Regions from separate parts of the Homo sapiens genome. Here region 2 is linked to region 1. The links are contacts of gene promoters, found by promoter capture Hi-C in human tissues and cell types (Jung and others, 2019). All regions are on one chromosome and are shown on one strand. The core of a region is centred on a gene start or on the middle of the fragment in contact, and the rest is flanking DNA. Distances in the headings are between cores, read along the strand shown.

Region 1 (3,893 bases), core at 474-2,973:
AACCAGGGAAGCTTGTAGTGCAGCTCAGTTCCAGAATAAAAGCCTCAGGACTTAGGGGGTAGCTAGTGCAAGTCCCAGCATTTTTTTTTTTTCTGAGATGGAGTCTCACTCTGTTGACCAGGCTGGAGTGCAGTGACATGATCTCAGCTCACTGCAGCCTCCGCCTCCAGGGTTCAAGCGATACTCCTGCCTCAGCCTCCCAAGTAGCTGGGACTACAGGCCTGTGCCACCACGCCTGGCTGATTTTTATATTTTTAGTAGAGATGGGGTTTCACCATGTTGGCCAGGCTGGTCTCGAACTCCTGACCTCAAGTGATTCACCTGCCTCAGCCTCCCAAACTGCTGGGATTACAGGCGTGAGCCACCATGCCCAGCTGCACATCCCAGCATTCAAAGACCAAAGAGCCTGGAGTTCTGATGTTTAAGGGCAGGTGCAGGGTGTCCCAGCTCATAAGAGAGAGCAAATTCTCCTTTCCTCTGCCTTTTTGTTCTATTCAGGCCCTCGGCCAATTGGATGGTGCCCACCACATTGGGTAACAACGGGTCTTCCTTACTCAGTCCATTGATTCAAATGCCAATCTCTTCTGGAAACACCCCAGAGTCATACCCAGAATTAACGCATCACCAGCTATCTGATAAACTTAACCAGTCAAGGTGACACCTAAAATTAACCATCACAATTATAAAAATAACTACTCAGAGAAACATTAGGAGCATGAACTGAAATTAGTTAATGGGACATTCTTAAACCAATGGCAGAAGCTCCTTCTTGGCCAGGAGCAGTGGCTCATGCCTTTAATACTAGCACTTTGCGAGGCTGAAGCAGGAGGATGGCTTAAGGCCAGGAGTTCAAGACTGGCCTGGGCAACATAGTGAGACCCCTATCTCTACAAAAATAAATAAATAAATAATAAAGTAAGGTGGTGGCTCACGCCTGTAATCCCAGCACTTTGGGAGGCCAAGGCAGGCAGATCATCTGAAGTCAGGAGTTCGAAGCCAGCGTGACCAACATAGTAAAACCCAGTCTCTACTAAAAATACAAAAACTAGCCAGGCGTGATGGCATGCACCTGTAATCCCAACTACTTAGGAGGCTGAGGCAGGAGAATCGCTTCAACTCGGGAGGCAGAAGTTGCAGTGAGCCAAGATTGCACCATTGCACTCCAGCCTGGGCAACAAGAGCAAAACTACGTCTCAAAAAATAATAATAACAATAAAATAAAAAACAAGCTTTTTTTTTTTTGAAACAGGATCTCACTCCATCACCCAGGCTGGAGTGCAGTGGCACGATCTTGGCTCACTGCAACCTCCGCCTCCCGGGTTCAAGTGATTCTCATGCCTCGGCCTCCTGAGTAGCTGAGACCACAGGCGCATGCCACCACACCTGGCTAATTTAGAATAAAAAAGAAGCTTCCTCTCTGCCACTCAGGTAGCCTTATCCCTAATCTCAGCCTCCGTCAGGGACTCCCTGAGGCCAGTTGGCTGAAAGCTGCCCAGGGAGTTCTAAGGATTTCAGTTTCTCTTTCCTTCTTGATGCAGCTCCCAGCTCACTTGGCCCTGCCCACACCTGTTCCCTCATCAGGCTCCCAGACGGGCCCCGCCCACTCATGCCTCTTAAGTCAAAGTGGAAATTCTCATTTCCAATTACCTTTTCACTTTACACACATCATCTTGGATTGCCCATTTTGCGTGGCTAAAAAGCAGAGCCATGCCGCTGGGGAAGCAGTTGCGATTTAGCCATGGCTGCAGCTTGGACCGTGGTGCTGGTGACTTTGGTGCTAGGCTTGGCCGTGGCAGGCCCTGTCCCCACTTCCAAGCCCACCACAACTGGGAAGGGCTGCCACATTGGCAGGTTCAAATCTCTGTCACCACAGGAGCTAGCGAGCTTCAAGAAGGCCAGGGACGCCTTGGTGAGTTCCTGTTGCTGTGGATGAACCACTTCTACGGGTGTCCCAATTACTGCCCTTCTACTGTGGGCTAGCCTCTAGCCTTCCAACTATGGCAAACCTCTATCCTTTCTGCACTGGGTTAAACCCATGCTGTCAGGCCAACTTCATCCTTGCTGCTATGAGCTAGCTTCCAGCCATCCTGCTGTGGGCTAACCCCTGCCCTTGCTCTCTAGGAAGAGTCACTCAAGCTGAAAAACTGGAGTTGCAGCTCTCCTGTCTTCCCCGGGAATTGGGACCTGAGGCTTCTCCAGGTGAGCTGAAAGTCAGGCCCCCTTCACCCTTCCCTTGACCCTCTCCCCCCTCTTCTTAAGTGGCCCCTTAGCCTTCTTTGTTTCCCTTGTCCTTCACTCTCTTGGACCTCTCCTCACCTGTCCTGTGCCCCTGCCACTTCAAAACTGCTCTCTTGACTCTGTCCTTCCCCTGGGTCCCTTTTATCATCTCCCATCGGCCCCACTTCCCTAGCTCGCTCACCTGTCCCTGTCACTTCCACTCTCACTCTTCATTTCTCTCCCAAATGTCTCCAGTCTGTCGCCCACCTGTGCCTTTCGTCCTGCTCCACTTCTCCCTGTCTGTTCCCAACACTGACCCCCTCTCCCTCTCACCTGCCTCTGTCACCTGTCCCTCATTATCTCTCACTGACATTCATCCAGCTCATGCTCCCCCCTCATCCACCCTTCTCTTTTTTTTTTTTTTTTTTTTTTTTTTGAGACAGAGTCTTGCTCTATGGCCCAGGCTGGAGTGCAGTGGCATGATCTCGGTTCACTGCAACCTCTGCCTCCCGGGTTCAAGCAATTATCCTGCCTCAGCCTCCCGAGTAGCTGGGATTACAGGCATGTGCCATGATGCCCAGCTAATTTTTGTATTTTTAGCAGAGACGGGGTTTCACTATGTTGGCCAGGCTTGGTCTCGAAATCCTGACCTCAGGTGATCCACCCGCCTCGGCCTCCCAAAGTGCTGGGATTACAGGCGTGAGCCACCACACCCAGCCCTACCCTTCTTCTCTGTGCATGCAACTGTCCCTCTCTTACTGTGCCCCCAACCTGCTTTCTCCTCACCCGTCCCCACCCCGCCCCAGAGAACTTCTGTGACCCCCGTAAGTCCCCTTTCATTTGTCTCCATTTCACTTATCCCCTCACCTGCCTCCTTGACCATCCTGCCTCACCTGTATCCTTCCTCATGTCTTCCCCCTCCTGTCTCCTTCTCCCCAGACCCCTCACCTGTCCCCACCACATGCACTGTGTCACCGACCTTCCCCAGGACTGCCTACCTGTCCCCACTAACTGGGTCTTCTTGCCTGTTCTCCCTCACCTGCTCTTTCTCACCTCTCCTCAGGTGAGGGAGCGCCCTGTGGCCTTGGAGGCTGAGCTGGCCCTGACGCTGAAGGTCCTGGAGGCCGCTGCTGGCCCAGCCCTGGAGGACGTCCTAGACCAGCCCCTTCACACCCTGCACCACATCCTCTCCCAGCTCCAGGCCTGTGTGAGTCCTTGGGGCCCGGGCACCCAGGTCTGTGGGCTCTGAGCAGCATCCTTCCCCTGTGGTGGCCCAGGCTCCGCCTCACACACCGCCCTCTTCTGCCCACAGATCCAGCCTCAGCCCACAGCAGGGCCCAGGCCCCGGGGCCGCCTCCACCACTGGCTGCACCGGCTCCAGGAGGCCCCCAAAAAGGTGAGTGACCCAGGAAGAGAAGGACCAGGGTCTGGGGAGCCAATAGGAGCCCAGACCCTGGACAGCCCCTGACCCATCCCCTCCTCCCCTACAGGAGTCCGCTGGCTGCCTGGAGGCATCTGTCACCTTCAACCTCTTCCGCCTCCTCACGCGAGACCTCAAATATGTGGCCGATGGGAACCTGTGTCTGAGAACGTCAACCCACCCTGAGTCCACCTGACACCCCACACCTTATTTATGCGCTGAGCCCTACTCCTTCCTTAATTTATTTCCTCTCACC
Region 2 (3,893 bases), core at 365-2,864, 540 kb after region 1:
GCAGAGTCCTCTGCAGCCCTAAAACCACATCAGCGTCCTTGGGGACCTCCCAACCACACCAAAGTTATCTGAGAACCTCTATAGAACAGAGTCCTATCTCTACAGCATTCTCATCCACCAGGGCACGATTTTCCTAGGGGACCCTCTCCATATCATGCCAAGACCGCTTCCCTATTTCAGGTCCTCCATATTAGGAACCAGCCTTCCAGGTAGTCTCCCTGTACCATATCCCAATTCCCCCTACCACAACAGGGTTCTTCCCCATATTACTCCAATATCCCATCCCAATCAAGGCCCACTCCTCCTGATGGGAGAAGGAGGAGGTGTCTCTTCCCACAGTTTAGAGTGATCATCCTTTTCTCCCCTACACTGCTTCCTTGCCCCCCTACACACACACACACACCCTAATATTCCTACCACAGACCTTTCTCCAGGCACCCCTCTTTATACCAGGGTCATTCCACAACTGTGTCCACTCCTAGAGGGCCTCAAAGTCAAATCCCCAAGTTATCACATAGGGTTCTCTCCTCCCAGAGTTGTCAGCTACAGCAAAAATCTTCTCCCCATGGGCCACTCTCTCCCCCATGTCAAATCCCTTTCTCCTATTCCATGCCTTGCCACTCCACGACTCCTCCACCCTTGGAGCTTCCCCCAAAAAACCACCTCTTCTCCGGGGCCCTCCCACACCAGGATCATCTCTCCCAGCCCCCACCCCCTACCCGGGTCAGGGCTGGCGCGGGGCCCACGGGGGGCTGGGGCGCGGTGGGGCCCCCAGTGGGGTGGGCGAGCGGCCAGCATGGCGGCGGTGGCGGCGCTGAAAAGGCGACCGCCTGTCTCTGGCCCGGCCGGCCCCGCGGCGGGGAGGGCAAGCGGGACAGGAGGCCCGGTGGGTGACAACAGCAGCCGCCACTGCCACCGGGGGCGGGGAGAGGAGGGGACAAGGGTCAGCCCAGGGCACGCGGGGGAAGAGTAGAGCAGGTGGACGGGGGAGGGGCGACACGCCCCACCCTGAGTGACCACCAGCCCCTAGGGACCCGGCGTCCCGCCCCCCACCCAGGAGGCCCTCCTGGGCCTGCTGAGACCGGAAGGCGGGGCCCGACTGAGCTTGGCAATCGGCACCTGCCATGGCAACAACTGTACCATTGGTCGCTGGTGCCAAGAGCTCAGCCAATCACAGCCTAGGGCAGCTGTTGCTAGGCGACGAAGAAGCGGCCCGCGGAGCTGAGCCCAAACAAAGGGCGGGAGTGGGGCCCGGCTACCCCCTCCCAGCCTCCCTCCTGCAACTGCTTCCTCGGGCTTGGCCGGTTCCAGGAATTCAACTATGAATAGCCAGGCAGGGCCCGCACCTGCCTGCCACCCCCCTCCTCTCCTCCCTTGGCCTCGTGCTAAGTCTCACGGCGACGGGAGCAGGGCGGATCCCGTCCTGCCCACCTCCCTGCGACCGCTTGCCGCCCCACCCGTCCCCGCGCCGTTACCTGAAGGAGCGGGCAAGGGGACTCAAACTGCTCGGGGAGCCCGAGCTCAGACCTGCCCACTGGCTGAGGGTATCCGGCGGACGCGGCAAGCCAGGGCCCCGATTACCCAGTAATGCAACCAGCAAAATGGCGACCACAACAAACCGGCCCCCCCACGCCCTGGACTCCGCCCCCATCCCTCCCTCTCCGCTCCCCTCACGTGACCCACACTGACACTCCGCCTGCGCGAGATGGCCGCTTACCTGCACGCATGCGCAGCGAGCTACCAATCCCACCCAAGAACCGAAATCCAGGCTGCCGCTGCGCAAAGGCAGCTAGAAACGGAGCATGCGCTCTGTGACCGAGTGAGAATTTACCCAACCCCGCAAAATTGACCAAGGGTGCGTGCTCCCTGTGTCAGCAGGTCAAGGGGAGGAATGAGCAGCAGACATGGGAGACGGATGAGTCTTTTAATAGAAAAACACACGTGCAACAGTATCAACACACATCTCTCGCAATCCTGACAGCGCTGAACTTCAGTTCTTCACCTTGGGGGGTGGCCTGTGAGAGGAAGATAGGTGATGAAGGAGGGTCCCCAGGATCATGGCACTCGGGGTGCAAGGGACAGAGATGTCTGTCTTGGTGTATTGCTGGGCCCCTGCTCACCTGTACACTCCCACGACCACGGCATGGTCTCTTTCATATGGCTCAAGGGTCAACTGCTCCTGCGGCTTCATGTTCTCCTGTTGCATCTTTTTCACTTCGGAGGCAAACACGGCCTCGGCTGAGGCTGTGGAGTCAATGCAGTTGGCCTAAAGAGGAGAAAGGACTAATGTCTACAACAGGGCTTTGGGCTGTTTTTCTCTTGTGTGCTCTTTAAACCAGATGTTTTCATTATTAATTCAAGTAAAACTCAGTGCTATGGTTCTAGTGTGTCCCCCAAAGTTCATGTGTTGGAAACGTAACCCTTAAATGCAAGAGTTGAGAGGTGGGACCTTCGAGAGATGATTCAGGTCATGAGGCCTCTGCCTTCCTGAATAGAGTAATGCTATTATCACAAGAGTGGGTTGCTGATTAAAAGGATGATTATGCCCCCTTTCTATCTTGCTCTCACCCTTCTGCCAATGGATGACAGCAAGAAGGCCCTCGCCAGATTCAGACCTCCAATCTTGGACTTTCCAGCCTTTGGAACTGGGAGCCAAATAAATTTCCATTCATTATAAATTACCCAGTCTAAGGCTGGGCGTGGTGGCTCACGCCTGTAATCCCAGCACTTTGGGAGGCCGAGGTGGCTCAATCACGAAATCAGGAGATTGAGACCATCCTGGCCAACACGGTGAAACCCTATCTCTACTAAAAATACAAAAATTAGTCGGGTGTGGTGGCGCACACCTGTAGTCCCACCTACTCGGGAAGCTGACGCAGGAGAATCGCTTGAACCCAGGAACTGGAGGTTGCAGTGAGCCGAGATCGTACCACTGCACTCCAACCTGGTGACAGAGTAAGACTCCATCTCAAAAAAATAAAAATAAAAATAAAAATAAATAAATTACCCAGTCTATAGCATTCTGTGATAGCTGCATAAAATGGGCTAAGACACTCGGGTTTAGGAAATGTGATAAAAGGCTTAATGAAAGTTTTTGGCTGGGTGCAGTGGCTCGTGCCTGTAATCCTAGCACTTTGGGAGCCTGAGACAGGCAGATTGCCTGAGCTCAGGAGCTCCAGAGCAGCCTGAGCAACATGGCAAAACCCCGTCTCCACTAAAAATATAAAAGTTAGCCAGGTGTGGTGGCACACGCCTGTAGTCCCAGCTACTTAGGAGGCTGAGGCAGAAGAATTGCTTGAACCTGGGAGGCAGAGGTTGCAGTGAGCTGAGATTGCACCACTTCACGCCAGCCTTGGTGACAGAGCGAGACTCTGTCTCAAATTAAAAAAAAAAAAAGTTTTTAGTTTTGTTTTGGATTTGAAGCAGGAAGCCTTAAACAGTCCTATTTATCTAAAAGCCAGTGCTTAAATTTTATACCCAGGAATTGTTTGGCTTATTTCTACTTCCTCTTCTTTAATAATAGTAATAATGCAGTTGAGAATAATAAAACAAATGTAGCAAAAGGCTAACAAATGGTGAACCTTGTGAAGGGTGCATGGGAGAGTTCTCCATTATTTCCAAATAAAAATGCTGTGAAAGATGCACCTAGCTTTTATCTAGTATCTATTCTATGCCAGGATCTTTTCTAAACACTTCATATTATATTGACTAATTTGATCCTGTCATCTACCCTGAAAAAGACTAGACAATATTTCTATTTCATAAGTGAGGAAACTGAGGCATATAGGTTAAGTAACTTGCTCAGTCACACAGCAGGCTGGGATTAAACTCAGATGGTCAGACTCAATTTTGCACTTGACCGCTGCACTCTCCTGCCTCTTTAAATCCAAAGC

Evidence for each region. Contacts are between HindIII fragments. The study calls those that stand out against the background at their distance.
Region 2: the fragment with the promoter of DYRK1B here is called in contact with the fragment with the promoter of IFNL1 in region 1 in 1 of the 25 tissues and cell types used here (stomach).

What each region holds. Positions count from the first base shown.
Region 1 is chr19:39,294,684-39,298,576 of GRCh38, forward strand. It overlaps IFNL1 (interferon lambda 1), which reads left to right and starts at 1,724. Exons shown (of 5, transcript NM_172140.2): 1 at 1,724-1,909; 2 at 2,122-2,199; 3 at 3,281-3,424; 4 at 3,530-3,613; 5 at 3,708-3,893. The coding sequence starts at 1,739. The coding sequence ends at 3,833. The HindIII fragment of the contact is 11,779 bases long and covers 621-3,893 here.
Region 2 is chr19:39,832,548-39,836,440 of GRCh38, forward strand. DYRK1B (dual specificity tyrosine phosphorylation regulated kinase 1B) reads right to left here and starts at 1,615. Exons shown (of 11, transcript NM_004714.3): 1 at 1,476-1,615. It overlaps FBL (fibrillarin), which reads right to left. Exons shown (of 9, transcript NM_001436.4): 8 at 2,121-2,266; 9 at 1,911-2,015. The coding sequence ends at 1,991. RefSeq lists silencers at 788-1,057, 1,318-1,427. The HindIII fragment of the contact is 28,957 bases long and covers 1-3,893 here.